Regions from separate parts of the Homo sapiens genome. Here regions 2 and 3 are each linked to region 1. Evidence: promoter capture Hi-C in 16 types of primary human blood cells and fetal thymus (Javierre and others, 2016). All regions are on one chromosome and are shown on one strand. Each heading gives the region's core, a stretch centred on a gene start or on the middle of the fragment in contact. The rest is flanking DNA. Distances are from core to core; before and after follow the strand shown. Region 1 holds the start of ANKRD35 (ankyrin repeat domain 35). Region 2 holds the start of RNVU1-6 (RNA, variant U1 small nuclear 6). Region 3 overlaps CD160 (CD160 molecule).

Evidence for each region. Contacts are between HindIII fragments. The CHiCAGO score rates a contact against its expected background, and 5 or more counts as called.
Region 2: a fragment that was not itself captured here is called in contact with the fragment with the promoter of ANKRD35 in region 1 in 15 of 17 cell types (naive B cells, non-activated CD4 T cells, naive CD4 T cells and 12 more); the score reaches 12.2 in naive B cells.
Region 3: a contact is called between a fragment that was not itself captured here and the fragment with the promoter of ANKRD35 in region 1, in 2 of 17 cell types (erythroblasts and endothelial precursors). The highest score is 5.7, in erythroblasts.

Annotation. Positions count from the first base shown.
Region 1 is chr1:145,883,916-145,889,040 of GRCh38, reverse strand. ANKRD35 (ankyrin repeat domain 35) reads left to right here and starts at 3,175. Exons shown (of 14, transcript NM_144698.5): 1 at 3,175-3,321. The coding sequence starts at 3,283. ANKRD35-DT (ANKRD35 divergent transcript) reads right to left here and starts at 2,861. Exons shown (of 3, transcript XR_001737758.2): 1 at 2,766-2,861; 2 at 1,712-1,825; 3 at 560-1,250. RefSeq lists silencers at 2,782-2,871, 3,112-3,301. The HindIII fragment of the contact is 4,625 bases long and covers 574-5,125 here.
Region 2 is chr1:146,049,067-146,054,191 of GRCh38, reverse strand. It overlaps RNVU1-6 (RNA, variant U1 small nuclear 6), which reads left to right and starts at 1,948; the gene lies at 1,948-2,111. LINC01719 (long intergenic non-protein coding RNA 1719) reads right to left here and starts at 1,596. Exons shown (of 3, transcript NR_125968.1): 1 at 1,244-1,596. RefSeq lists enhancers at 1,278-2,009, 2,010-2,738 and a silencer at 1,859-2,098. The HindIII fragment of the contact is 874 bases long and covers 1,523-2,396 here.
Region 3 is chr1:145,736,423-145,741,547 of GRCh38, reverse strand. CD160 (CD160 molecule) reads right to left here. Exons shown (of 6, transcript NM_007053.4): 6 at 2,260-3,062. The coding sequence ends at 3,055. It overlaps RNF115 (ring finger protein 115), which reads left to right. Exons shown (of 9, transcript NM_014455.4): 9 at 1-2,680. Among named protein-coding and RNA genes, the nearest start is that of CD160, 19 kb to the right of the region's middle. The HindIII fragment of the contact is 2,101 bases long and covers 1,509-3,609 here.

The sequences.
Region 1 (5,125 bases), core at 1,926-4,425:
AACACAACTACCATCAAAGAGTCCAGTCCAGTAGCAGAAACAAACATGTAAACAAATAGTGGCAAATACAGCCTGGACGCAGTGGCTCACACCTGTGATCCCAGGACTTTGGGAGGTCGTGGCAGGTGGATCACTTGAGTTCAGGAGTTCGAGACCATCTTGGACAACATGTGAAACCCTGTCTTTACCAAAAATACAGAAACAATTAGCTGGGCATGGTGGTACGCACCTGTAGTCCCATCTACTTGGGAGGCTGAGGTGGGAGGATGGCACGAGCCCAGGAAGTGGAGGTTACAGTGAGCCGACATCACGCCATTGCGCTGCAGCCTGGGTGACAGAGTGAGACACTATCTCAAAAACAAAAAAAAATGGCAAATGCAAAGAGGTGGTTGCTATATATCAACAAGCACTAGGAGTATGTCATACAAGAGGCATACTTTGTTGGGCGGTGGGGGTGGCGGGGTTGTAAGGGAAAACTTTATAGAAAAAAGAAATTTGGCTGCGGGGTTGTTCTGTGCAGGAAACGCACAAGGGGAGAAGAAGAGACACACACAATACCTTTAAGGGTAAACAAGCTTTATCCCATGTAAATGGCAATGGAGATATAATAAGCAAATGGTACAAGCAAATTAATATAATAAGCAAATTATATAATAAGTAAGCAAATGATATAATAAACAGATTGATATAATAAGCAAATTGCAATGGGAAGGGGAGAAGGGAAAAGATGTTTACATTCACCAGACTATGGAGGATTTACCACCAGACTGGAAAGCAACAGCCTGGGTTCCAGAGTTGAACACCGCACTCATAAGACTATAGAGGATTCACCACCAGACTGAGAAGCAACAGCCTGGGCTCCAGAGTTGGCCACTCATCCATGCACAGACGAGGAGAGGTCTCATGAAGTTTTGGCGCAGTCTGGGACCCTAGCTCTTTTTGTAACGAGTTGTTTGGCATGAGGCCCAGTCACGGGGCCCTTGGCGACTGGGCTCAAGGAACACAAAACATTCAACTTATTTTTGCAATTGTCTATTGTTTTTCAATAACTAACGTGTAGGAATAGATTGAAATAGAGATTTCTCCAAAACAGTGCTGGACGAACACCTCAAGGGGCTCACACAACCTGTTCTGGGACTTGGTGACCATTGTTTCTGTCCACGTTCAATTGAGTTCAAATTTAATATTTAACTTTTCCACCGCAGGGATCAAATGTGACAGGAGGCATTCTTGGGAGGATTAATCACCAGCTGCAAAGGGAATTGTAAATTAGAACAGTTTGAGGCCTGGTGCTCTGGGAGTTGAGGTGAGGAGAATCGCTTGAGCCCAGGAGTTCAAAACCAGTCTGGGCAACATGGTGAAACCCCATCTCTACCAAATATATGAAAATTAGCTGGGCATGGTGATGTGCACCTATAGTCCCAGCTACTCAGGAGGCTGAAGTGGGAGGATCCCTTGAGCTTAAGAAGTCAAGGCTGCTGCAGTGAGCCCCGATCATGCTATCACACTCCAGCCTGGGTGACAGCGAGACCCTGTCTCAAAACAAAAAAAACAAGGCCAGGCATAGTGGCTCACGCCTGTAATCCCAGCACTTTGGGAGGCCAAGGCAGGTGGATCACTTGAGGTCAGGAATTTGAGACCAGTCCGGCCAACATGGCAAAACCCTGTCTCTACTAAAAATACAAAACTTAGCGGGCGTGATGGCACATACCTGTAATCCCAGCCACTTGGGAGGCTGAGGCAGGAGAATTGCTTGGACCGGGAAGGCAGAGGCTGCGGTGAGTGAGCCGAGATTGTGCCACTGCACTTCAGTCTGGGTGAGACTCTGTCTCAAAAAATAAAAATAATAATAATAAAAAAAGAAACAGTTTGAGTGGCTCTTTTGTGTGAAAGTAATGAGAGATGGGACTGGGAAAGAGGGCGGCAGCATATGACTCCTGAAGAGCCTTGTAAACCACTTAAGAACTTTGGGCTTTACCCTGTAGGTTTTCATATGCATTTTAGTGAGCTCTCTCCGGCGGGGAGAGGAGAAAAGAAAGACAGGAAGACCAGTTGGCTGCGACTGACTGTTCAAGAATTACCAAGAGCCTGAACTTCAAGGGCAGTGGAAATAATGAAGACAGTTTTTTGTTTGGTTATTTTTTGTTTCTATGCGGGGGCGGGGGCGGGGGGGGCAGCTTAAAATAAAATTGCTCTCCTCGCTCTCTGCTGTTTTCTAATTCAGATGTGCGTTTAAAAATTGAGCCTGGGCCAGGAATAGTGGTGGCTCATGCCTATAATCCCAGCGCTTTGGGAGGCTACGGTGAGGAGAATCGCTTGAGGCCTGGAGTTGAAGACCAGACTGGGTAACATAGAGACACTCCATCTCTTAAAAAAAAAAAAAAAAAATTAGCCAGGCGTGGTGGTGCATGCCTGTAGTCTCAGCTACTCGGGAGGCTGGAGTGAGAGAATCCCTTAAGCCCACAAGTTGGAGGTTACGGTGAGCTATGATAGCGCCATGCACTCCAGCCTGGCCGACAGAGGGACAGATTAGAGACACTGTCTCAGAAAACAGAAAGAAAAAATAAAATTGAACCTGATCACCTTTCCTTAGGTTTTGTCCCCCAGGTTACCGTGGGCCGCGCATTATCTCTGCTCTGCTTAACACTACAATCTCCTATTTCCGAACTGCTCTCTTCAAATGCTCTTTTTTGCTTGGGTTTTTGGCCGGGGAATAGTGGCGGGGGAGAGGCGGGGGGAGTTGGCGGGGGCAGAGGTAACTTTACCAGTGATTAAATGCAAATGCGACAGTCCGTGAGACCGAAGCCCCTGGTAGAAGCCGGGACCCTCCTGCCTCTGGCTGCCGCTCTCCGAGGGGCGGGGCTGAGGCGGGGCTTGGGGCGGAGGCCCCGCCTGGAACTGAGGGTGGGGCGGGTCCGGGTCCGGGAGGAGTCTCAGCTGGAGCCCACCCGGTTCCTTTCCTGATTGAGCAGGTCGGATCCCAGGGTGGGTTCAGATTTGAAGGGCGAGGTTCGAGGCCAAGCCCCCGTCGCAGCCTAAGACTGCGGGCTTTTCTCCTCTGCAGGGATGGGGTAGGGCAGGGCCAGGGGCGGAGTTTTGAGCCCAGCCCTTGGGTTCTTGCCTCTGATTGAGCAGGGCGGGTTCTGAGGCGGATCGTGGGGCGGGGCCCGCTCTGCTTTTTGACAGCTGTCTCTTGCACAGCCGCAGCCAAGTCCGGTGGGTTCGGGAACCTGTGGCCCGGCTCTCTGCGCGTCCCCATCCCCCGTGGCCCCGACCCCGGCCATGAAGCGTATCTTCTCCTGCTCCAGCACACAGGTGGCGGTAGGTGCCAAAATGTGTGGGAGGATGGGGTTGGGATCCCAGCTCTGTGGTGACAGAAGTCTTTAGTCCCGTCTCAATGCATCATCGCCTTTTCTTTTTATCAGTCTTTCTAGCTCTTCTAGTCTTGCAAGGAAGCCCGCCAGCTTTGCCTTCCTCAAGACCCTGCCCTGCAGCTTCTGACTTGCCCTGCTCACCTCTGCCATCCCCAAGGCCCTTTCCCCGGCCCCTTTCTTGTCCTCCTAGCATCTACACCCCCGATTTCTGGTTCGTTTTCTGCAACTCTGTCCCCTTCCCATGGCCCTGACCCTACTTCTGCTCCGTCTCCCAGTACCAAACCTCCCCCAAGCATCTTCCTCAGCCCCTGCCTGGCCTCAAGCTCCATTCTACACCACCAAGTCATGCCCCAGAGCCCCATATTTCATCCCTGCCCTGTCCCCGCAATCTTGCCTTCCACGTAGCTCTATCCTTGCTGTTTCCTGTTAGTTCAACAAGCACTCCCAGCCCTGTGCCTTCTGCTAACCCTTTTTCACAATCTCCTCTGTCATTGCTTCCCTCCTGCCCCATGCCACTTTCACTCCCATCTCTCACCAGCACTGCTGTTCCTCAAACATCACTCCAAACCTTTTTCCAATTGATGCTCCCACAACAGCAACCTTCTGTTCTCCCCTCCAACCTCTGCCCTACTCTGCCCAGTGGTCGCCAGTCCCACTTTTCCTCCTGCCTGCTTGCTGTGAGTTAATATTGCAGTCTGGTCAGCCTCACAGGCACTGCCAGAGGATGCACAGTTGCCTGACTGCTCCCCAGAGGACTGGGTGAGTTGCCTGCAGAGTCCACCCCAGCCAGTTCACTGCAGTGTCTGATCATCAGACTGGTTCTTGGGCCAGTCAAGGCTCAAGGCCTTTCTGCCTGCTTTTCCCCAGATTATTCATTTCCTGAACCCTTGCCCAGTTGCTTAGGAATGATACTCTCTGTTTCCTTGGTTGAGGTGGGGGAAAGTGATGATGAGAGAAGAGGATAGAGCAGACTCAGAGTTCCCAGCAGAAGTCACTCTATTCCCCATGTTCTCCCAGAAAAAAAAAAACATAAGATTATAGAAGGTGGTGGCTTAGGGAGGGTATTGCTTCTTCTTCTCTAGAGATCTCTTACAGAGAGCCCCCTTATTTGGAAATGGAATTTTCTGTAGAGGTTGGGGTTACGGCTAATTTAGAAGCAAATTAGCCAGCTACTTGTAGCAATATTGCTTTGCTAACTTGACTTAGTAGTATCGTTCATAAGAAAATATCAGAAATGTTCAATTAGCTCATTCTGCATGGGCAGGTTACAGAATCCTGGAAGCAAGCTATGAGGCAAGAGTATGAACTCTGTTGAGGCCTGTCCTTGTCCCACTTACATTTGCATCTCTACTTAGTTTCCACACATTGATCAACCAATCAAAAGGTATTTACTATTATATGCACCAGAAACTGAGGCTGCCCAGACTCAGTCTTAACTCATAATGACTTTTTAGAAATTCATATGGACTCTTCCTTAGTTACTGAAAGTATTCAATGTTGCCTTTCCCTTACAGGTTTGTGGAGTCTGCCTGCTTCTTAGGAATGGGGAAACTATTTCATTCTTTCTGATCCCCCAATCCTTGGGCAGTACCTCCTTTCCAAGGTGCTGGAATGAGTGGGCTGGCTTTTGGAATTTGGAACCATCCCTCTGTCCTCCTTGATTCTAGCTGTACAGAGGTTTGACCATAAAGAATGACCACCCATTCTAAACTTTTAGTATAACAAGATCTTACTATAATGAGATTATGGGA
Region 2 (5,125 bases), core at 710-3,209, 170 kb before region 1:
GCCTCACCCGGGAAGTGCAAGGGGTTGGGGGATTTCTTTTTCCTAGCCAAGGGAAGCTGTGAGTGACTGTACCTCGAGAAGCAGTACACCCCTGCCCAAATACTGTGCTTTTTTCCACTGTCTTTGCAACCGACAGACCAGGAGATTCCCTCTTGTGCCTGGCTCGGCAGGTCCCATGCCCATGGAGCCTTGCCTGCTGCTAGCACAGCAGTCTGAGATCAACCTGTGACACTGGAGCATGGCAGGGGGAGGGGGTTCTGCCACTGCTGAGGCTTGAGTATGTGGTTCTATGGTCACAGTGTAAATAAAGTGGTAGGGAAGCTCGAACTGGGTAGAGCCCACTGCAGCTCAGCAAGGCCTACTGCCTCTAGATTCCACCTCTGGGGGCAGGGCATATCTGAATAAAAGGCAGCAGACAGCTTCTGCAGACTTAAACGTCCCTGCCTGACAGCAGGGACTGCTGTCATAATCATTATGATTATGAATCATAATCATGAAGACAATCTGTATTCCAGAATAGTAAGGGAACCTATTCCATCAGGGAGCCAACTGAAAACATCAAATCCCAGTTCACACCCCAGGGTGTGGTGTCATGCACCTGTAGTCCCAGCTACTTGGGAGGATTAGTAAGGAGGTTTGCTTGAATTCGTGAGGTCAAGGCAGAAGTAAACCCTGATCATGCCACTGTACTCCAACCTGGGCGACAGTGAGACCTTGTCTCAGAAACAAACAAACAAACAAAAAACCCCACAAAACCAAACAACAACAAATTGTCACCTCATTCTGAAATGACAGTGGCAAACATCACTTTGCTATTTGAAAATTAAAAGAAGCCGGGCGCGGTGGCTCACGCCTGTAATCCCAGCACTTTGGGAGGCCGAGGTGGGCGGATCACAAGGTCAGGAGATCGAGACCATCCTGGCTAACAGAGTGAAACCCCATCTCTACTAAAAATACAAAAAATTAGCCGGACGTGGTGGCAGGTGCCTGTAATCCCAGCTACTGGGGAGGCTGAGGCAGGAGAATGGCGTGAACCCGGGAGGCGGAGCTTGCAGTGAGCCGAGATAGCCCCACTGCACTCCAGCCTGAGCGAAGAGCGCGAGACTCCGTCTCAAAACAAAAAAAAAGAAAATTAAAAGAAAAACACTCCCTCTTGCTATCAACCTGCCCTCTTGCTCTAACTTGTCTGACCCATGGTTTAAAATGCCCAAAAGCTGATGTACTCAAATTATAGTACACTTACCTGTTCTGCACCAGCATTTACTTTTGTCTGGAGGAGATCACCATGCATGGTCCTATACATGTCTAATGGCATGGAATGATGAAGGGTAGTGTCTTTTAGGATAGTTGGATACATATATATATATATATATATATATATATATATATATATGCGGAATGCTACATCACAAGAATAAGAATGTGAAAAGAACCAGTTTCTTTTGTAATCCTAAACGTTCTAGTCTGAGAATTAAAAGCCATTGTTCGAAGAAGGGTGCCCAGGGTCCAGCTGGTCGCCGAAAGCTTGCTCCGCAATACAGGCTAAGGACCAGCTTCTTTGGAAGAGAACAGATGAGGGAAGCAGGAGAGAAAAAAGGGAGAGGCAGACGTCACTTCCCCTTGCCGGCTCCGGCAGCGGGTTGGTCGGCTGAGCGGCAGAAAGGCAGACGGGGACTGGGAAAGGCGCTGTCGGTGACATCACGGATAGGGCGACTTCTATGTAGATGAGCCAGCGCAGGGGCTGCTGCTTCGCCACATGCTGCTTCGCCACGAAGGAGTTCCCGTGCCGTGGGAGCGGGTTCAGGACCGCTGGTCGGACCTGAGAGTCCCAGCTGTGTGTCAGGGCTAGGAGGGCTGGGGGGGAGGGGGGTGTGCGCGGGGCAAGTGACCGTGCGTGTAAAGGGTGAAGCGTGTGAGGCTGCCGGCGGGGCGGAGGTGCAATAACTCATACTTACCTGGCAGGAGAGATACCCTGGTCACGAAGGTGGTTTTTCCAGAGCGAGTCTTATCCATTGCACTCCGGATCTGCTGACCCCTGCAGTTTCCCCAAATGTGGGAAACTTGACTGTATAATTTGTGGCAGTGGTAGACTGCATTCGCGCTTTCCCCTGTATTTTTGTCGTTTTAAAAATAGGTTTTGTTTGCTGCAGAAACGCATACTGGGCGTCAGCGTAAGCTGAGAATCAGGTCTTTGTTCCCATCTGTAACTTCACTGAAACTAAAAATTTGGGACATCGTGGTTCTCACGTTTGTAATCCCAGCAATCTATGAGGTACGTCGATAGGTTATGTTTATGTTAATATCGCTCGACCTCAGGCGTGTGTGGGCAAATATAGTGAACCCGTCTCTACTAATCTCTTATCTTTTTTTGTTGTTGTTCTATAGAAATAAAACTAAGCTTTTCTTTTCCCTATGGGATTAACAGCAAACAGTCCGCTGGAGTGTATGGCGCGATCTCGCCTTACTGCAACCTTTGCCTCCTGCGTTCAAGCTATTCTCCTTCCTCAACCAGAGAATACTCAGCCTCCCGAGTAACTGGCATTACAGGCTCAGGCAACCAAAAAATTAGGTCCGGCTAATTTTTTGAATTTTTAGTAGAGACATGGTTTCACCGGGCCGGGCGCACTGGCTCGCGCCTGTAATCCCAGCACTTTGGGAGGCGGAAGCGGGTGGATCATGAGGTCAGGAGGTCAAGACCATCCTGGCTAACACAGTGAAACCCCATCTCTAATAAAAATACAAAAAAAAAAAATTAGCCGGGTGTGGTGGCACGTGCCTGTAGTCCCAGCTACTCAGGAGGCTGAGGCAAGAGAATCGCTTGAACCCGGGAGGCAGAGGTTGCAGTGAGCTGAGATCGCACCACTGCACTCCAGCCTGGGCGACAGAGTGAGACTCCGTCTCAAAAAAAAAAAAAAAAAAAAAGAGTGACAGGGTTTCACCATGTTGGCCACCCTGGTCTTGAACTCCTGACCTCAAGTTTTCCGCCTGCCTCGCGGCCTCCCAAAATGTTGGGATTACAGGCCTGAGCCACCGCACCTGGCCTGTTTACAGACTTTACAGACACATTTTGTTTACAAGCTTTACAGGTACAGTTCAATTGCGATTAGTGTATATTATGTTTGGCCCAAGACAAGTGTCTTTTTTTTTTTTCCAGTGTGGCCCAAGGAAGCCAAAATTTAGACAACCCTGCTCTAGAGGGTTTGATTCATGGTTCCACTGGGTTATGCTTATTGCCTATAATTCCATTTGATATTTTCCAAATTTGATTTTTTAAAAAGCGTTTTCCTGAAGCACCCTAAAGCTTTCCTAATAATATGAGAACTTAAACCAGATTGGATGTGACAAAACCCTGCTGGAATCCTGCAACTTCTAACCTTAATGTTAGATCAAGAAGCAAAACACCCACCAGTCCAAGGGTCAGGGAAGCTGAAGATCATGCCTGAGCTGTAACAACGCCCTTCCCAGTATACAAAAGAGTGTAACAGCCACTCGAATTCTATCTTCCAAGTGTCTCCTGTTGCCCAGGCTAACCTAGAGCTATCTAAAGATGGCAAATCTGGGAAATGTGCATTCAGCTTGGCAAAACTGATACATTACAAATCCACCACAGTCCACTTCTTCTCAAAGTGGCATCAATGTACATCTTCCTCCTCTTCTTTTTTTCCTCCTCTTCCTCTTCTTTTGCTTCTTCCTCCTCCTTTTTCCTCCTTGTAAAATCATACTTAAGGTTCAAATAAAGACAATATGAAAATCATACTTTTTCTCATTCAGTGAAAATATGCCAACCCTTTCCCCAACAGGATAAAGTCTTTGTCTTTGAATGATGTTCACTCCTTTTTTAGCTAGATAGATCACATTCCATATTTGCTTTCCTGTAACCTAAATATTGAGATTTCTAAAAGTTAATTATTAATGAATGTGCTAGCTAGGGTGATGGAAGAGGAGAATTCTCAAGAAAAGTTTTGGTTAATATACACCCAAATGTATTCATCTCAAAATAATGAAGAAATACTCATAACTATTACAAGTCCTGATTTCTGCAACTGGCACTGGCACTAGCTGGTATTTGTAACTATCTTCACATCTTGTACCCACAGCCAGTTCCTTTGGGCCTGGGCCGGTGGACGTGAGCGTGGGAAGGACAAGAACCCGCGGTGCCCCCCACCGCACTATCCTCGGGTCTCCAGAGGTGGGATCCACCGGGCAGGGGCCTTTGCTGGATTCTAAACCGGCTCTGGGGATACAAGAACAGCTGCCTTTGAGAAACAGTTCAGGTCTCTATATTCCAGACTTCCTAGTAGGACTAAACGCTTAACGTTCACACGGGAATTCATGGTTCTCCTAAAACCCTGCGGTGGAATGCCTTCCTTCACCAAGCATTTATTGGGCACCTACTAGGTGCTAGGCTGGCTCTGGGCGAAGGGCTGCAGCCTGTGCAAACTCCAGGTCCCTGTCCGGTGGATCCCACCTCTGAGGGCCCGAGGGTGACGCGGTGAGGACACCACGGGTTCTGGTCCTTCCCACGCGCGCGTCCGCTAGCCCAGGCCCGGCGGAAATGACTGTGAGCTCAAGGTGTGAAGCGGGGCTAAGAATGGGAAAGCGAGTGACTTCCGCCGGAGAAGCTGCAGTTGTCGCCTGTAGAGGGGCCGGCGACTTTTGAGACGGTGAAGAGCAGGCGGGGGAACCAGTGAAGAGCAGACGGTGAGGAGCAGGCGGCCGTTTGGCCGTTGGAGTCCCCCAGCTGACTCTGCCCGGGTAGAACGTCCAAAGTGCCCAAAGACTCGACTCTTGGCTTCAATGTCTCCCGTGTTCTGGGTTTCTGGAGTGCGCGGGATTGGACAGGCTACAAACATATGAGATTATCTACGGCCAGAGGTTAAAATGCCATTTCTGGTATCAGCAAATCTAAACCATTAGAGTCTCTGTGGCGCCATCGGTTAGTGCCTTCGGCTGTTTGAACCGAAAGGCTGGTGGTTCAAGCCCACCCAGAGATGGTACCTTTTACTTAGGCAAGATTCACGCTTTCTGTTTAAAGACTTTAATCCTGGGAATCTTCCGGACCTCTACTAGCTTTAAATTCGATGCCAAAATACGCTGTGCGAAGGCTCAAGTTCCATGGAAGTTC
Region 3 (5,125 bases), core at 1,310-3,809, 150 kb after region 1:
TCCTAGCCTGCAGTAATGTCAGTGTCTCAGTATTCAGCCAGCGAGCCACTGAGCTGCTCCAGGGGTTTAAAATAGAATGCATAGAATACAATGTATACAGCTGGTGATGCTTTCCAGGATCAAAATAGAGCCCTTGTCTGATCCCATTGACATTGTAAGGTTTCGATCTCTCATACCTGCCACAGACAAGTACATTGTAGGCATTCAACTTTTAAGGTTTTATACATGCAAACTTTATGTTTTCCTGCCACACTACACTTGGTGTCCACAGAAGTGTAGTTTGTATGTTGCCTCTTCTTCCTCTTTCAACCAGAACACTTAGATCTGTGATCATAGGATGTAAGCCTGTGATTCTTTACTTTTTCTAATAAGAAATACAATTTTCAAGATCCAAAAATTATTAGATTCTTGGCTGGGCATTGTGGCTCATGCCTGTAATCTCAGCATTTTGGAAGGCTGAGGCAGGCAGATCACTTGAGGTCAGGAGTTTGAGACCAGCCTGGGCAGCACAATAAAACACCATGTCTACTAAAAATACAAAAATTAGCCAGGTGTGGTGGCATGCACCTGTAGTCCCAGCTACTTGGGAGGCTGAGGAGGGAGAATCGTTTGAACCAAGGAGGCAGAGGTTGTAGTGAGCCAAGATTGTGCCACTGCACTCCAGGGCAACAGAGAGAGACCCTGTCTCAAAACAAAAACCCCCAAATTATTAGATTCCCTTCCAACAACTTGATAGCCATATTATTAGTATTTTTGATTAAAGAATACATAACAAAAAGCTGCTATGATTTCAGTAATGCTTTTAAGTTAATTTATTAGTCACACCAGAATCTACATCCAATTGAAATATATACAAATATTTGAAAGATATTTATTCAGGCTGAAGATTATGGTATATAGATTCCTTCTGATAACCTCATGGCCTCACAGGTTCAAAACCCGTGTTTGTGAATCACTCATACAGATTGGGGCTAAGATGCGTGTCCAGAAAACCACCTATTATGCATGAAAATTTGTAGGCTTATTTGAAGGCAATTGTATCAACACATTTTGAAAGCCAAGACACAAGTATTTTAAGTTTCTGTTTAACCAAGTCTCGAGATAAGCAGAGTAAATAAACTCTTTAGAAGCAAGACTCAGTTGGTATGTACAAAGTGGGATTGCTTTGTATATATTCCGCTTAGTTTGAGTCAGAGCTAGTAATCTGATGCTCTTAAATGTCTTCATAAACTTGGGCAGTGATGTTTCCTTTCTGTGATTATGTGTCACAGATTTTTATATGTGGACTATAATTAGTATAGTACAATGGCTGAAACTTTTCCTATAGTTGGATATATCTTCTGAGACTTCCAGTGATTGTATAATGTTGAGTAGCTCCAGAAGATTATTTGAATAGTAAAAACAAAAGACATCTCTACCTATGTGAGTTTATTATTTAGTTAGAAACACAGAACTAACTATTTAAAACAGGTAGAGAAAGATTAAGATGAATGTGATGTAGTGGAGAAAGCTTTGGAGACTTTGGAGTCAGAACTCAAATGGCTCTAGGTCCCAAATCCAGACTCTCATTTTGATTCTCAGAACAATTCTGTGGAAAGAGAAGATACAATAGGCAATATCCCTTTTTACAGATAGGTAAACAGAAATAGCATCTCAAAACCTCATTTGCACTGGGTGAGGTGGCTCACGCCTGTAATCCCAGCACTTTGGGAGGCTGAGGCGGGTGGATCACTTGAGGTCAGGAGTTTGAGACCAGCCTGGCCAACATGGTGAAACCCCGTCTCTACCAAAAACACAAAAATTAGCCAGGCATGGTGGTGCATGCCTGTAATCCCAGCTACTTGGGAGACTGAGGCAGGAGAATTGCTTGAACCCGGGAGGTGGAGGTTGCAGTGAGCTGAGATCATGCCACTGCACTCCAGCCTGGGCAACAGAGTGAGACTCCGTCTCAAAAAAAAAAAAAAAAAATTCATTTGCCCAATGACAAATAGCTGGTATGTTGCAGAGCCAGAATTTGAATCCAGGTCTTTTTGCCTCCATGGCTAGTCCTTTTATCTCCATGGGATACAGTCTAAAATCCTTAGTTTGAGGTTCAAGACTATCACTAATAAGAGTCTTACTCATCTACTTCAGCCATATCTCTTTCCGTTCCCACAAACCTTAGCTCCCACATTTGGCAGGTCCTTGCCAAGGAGCACAGGTAAAGTGTCTCTTTCCTTTTAATGGCTCACCATGGAGCTGTAGCTAAATTTCTGTGCTCTTACCCCTTTATTCATGTAGTTCCTCCTATCAGGAATATCCTGCCCACTCTCTGCTTAACTATGACAAGAGGTCATCTGTCCAAAGAGAAAGAAGAGAGTTTGTGGATTTAGGAGAAAAGAAAAGACTCCAAATACTGCTATGGGCATTTATTTAAAAAGAGAAATGACCAAAGAGGTTAACAAGTATTTAGATGAAGCTGGGCAGTTGTAGTCTGTGGTGCTCTTGGTCTGCACAAATCTTCCTCTTCCTCCAGCAGTGCTGTATGGATGTTGTTGAATGTTGAGGTCTGTCTGCATTTTCTCATTTTCATGCCAAGTCAATCACTGGATCTGGCTGTCTTCCTTTCTGTCCTACCTATCTTTGCTTGTTTTCTCTCTCTTTCCTTTGCAGTGTTAAATAAAAATTTATTCCCCCAAAATTTGGTGTTCTCATTTTGTTTGACTTATTTTACTATGTTGATGAAGAGGGAGGAAAAGTTTTTCTGGGGTACAAAAACGCATATATTTATCCGATATTTGAGGACTATACTACCCACTTTGGTGAAAGCTGTTCTGTTTATTTACTGGAGCTTAGGAGGGAAGAAGGCAAGTTTGCCCTGATGGTGAGGAGCAAAGTCAAGGATTACACTGATTTGCCCCAGCTTATATTTCCACAGATTCTTGGTATATTTAGCATCTCTTCCCCTGTGCCCTGTTGCATTCTTCTCTGTGCCTATTGTAATGAGAAAGATACTAAGCCATAGTCAGACTCATCTTGCTGTAGCTGTTTTAAAAGTTTCTTTTGGCACAAGGCTTACAAAGCTGTGGAAAGAAAGTTTGTATTACTGCCTTATAACTTAGAATAGCAACAAAATACCTGATATAATGAAGTCTCACCTGTCCTGAGATGCGTGCGTGATAGGCCCTCATGACTGTAAAGGGATTGGAAAAGGAAAGTGGGAACTATTTTATGTATTGCATCTTATTACTAAATTAGGGTTGTAATCTTGAGCAAATCTGATTCTGGTGGGAGTGGGAAGGGGGCTAGCCTTTGATCGCTCCTTGCTGGAAGGAACAATCAAAGAAGCAATAGATGCCACTCAAAAAGTTGAAGGTAGGTTTTCCACGTATAGCTCTGAATTGTTGGCACAGTGGTAAGACAAGGATATTCACTGAAACTAGTTCATGAGCTGAGAGAGGCACAGAGGTCCAGGAAACTCCCTCCTCCTTTTCCCCACATGTAAGCATGATAACTTGACCTATGTGGTGTTTCTGGACCTGAAAAAGCATGTGTACTATTCTACTGAATACTACCTCTTTCAATAATTCTACTAAGCCTTGAGTTGGGGAAGAAGGATAAAGAAAAGAAAGCTTCTAAGTAGTGTATATTTTCTCGTTTAATCAAATATTGAGCTTTGGTTTTTTCCTTTGGTTAACTTTAAAGCTACTTGAATTGAATATAGGAGAAAACAAAAAATTGGATTCAAAAGCTCATTCTCTTCACCTGAGTGGAAAAGGAAAAAAAGGCCAGAGATGATTTTTTTTTTTTTTTTTTTGCTCTAGGATGACTTGGGAATCAAAGATAGTAACTAGTAGTAGGTTGTATGGCTAGACTCAATTTCCCCTTTATAATTTTTATTCTAAAATAAAATTTATTTTACTGGTTACAGTGGCCTAACCAAGGGAATTTAAAGTCAACAAAAAATTATGTCTAAAGGTCAGACTGTTTCATATTCATGTTTCCTCCTGAAAACTGGCATAGGCTTAAATTTGGAAGATCCTTACCAAGGATTACAGATAAGGTCTCTGTTTTCTTTTTGAAATCTCTGTTTTCTTTTGATGACTTGCAAATAAGGGACTGGAATAGGGAATGTTTAGGTGGTCCTGTTTCTGGAAAGGGGAGGAGTCAATCTCAGAATGAATGGGGTGGTGAAGGATGTAAGAGGTGCTTTGCATATAGTAGATCATTACTGAGTGTAAGGTTTTAGAGTGAGAAGGATCTGTATTAATTGCTGTGACGGGCAACAATTAACTCTTTTTTTTTTTTTTTTTCCTTTGAGAAAGTGTCTCACCCTGTCACCCAGGCTGGAGTACAGTGGCATGATCATGGCTCACTGCAACCTCAACCAGCCTGGGCTCAGGTGATCCTCATGCCTTAGCTTGGGACTACAGTTGTGTGCCACCATGCCTAATTTTTGTATTTTTTTGTATAGTTGGGGTTTTGCCATGTTGCCCAGACTGGCCTCAAACTCCTAGGCTCAAAGGATCTGCCTGCCTTGGCCTCCCAAAGTGCTGGGATTACAGGCGTGAGCCACCGCACCAGGCCCTATTTAACTTCCTTGTGTCTGTTTCCTGATGAGTAACCAGGGGATGTTTGCTTGCAAGGGTTGTATAAGGTTAGAATCATCATGTGTAAAGCATCTGATTCATCATACAGGTTTTTTAACAAATTTATTAAGAGCCTGCCATATGTGTGGGACTTTTCGTTGGGGTAAAGAAGACAAAGTCCTTACATATATATAGAGCTTACATTCTGATGCCATTCAAAACAGTGGTAGTTATTGATTTGAGGAATGCCTAAATAAAATGGAGTTAAGAATGCCAAGGCCAGGCAAAAACCTGAATCAGTTGCTTGTTATGCAAAAACGTTATGACAAATTATTGGAAGTTTCACTTTTTGTTATCTAATAGGGAAAACGCTAATCTATATTGGTAAATGGTTTTCAGAGGACTCAGCTACATGTGTTTAATATACTCAATCTGGCCATCAGCCTTTGCTGAGGAGCCGCATTGTTCAAAACCCATCTCCAAACCAAGTCTGTCTCTTGCCTTTTCTTCCTCTAATAGCTGAAAATCTGTTGCTTCAACTTGTAGCCCTCTGTTCA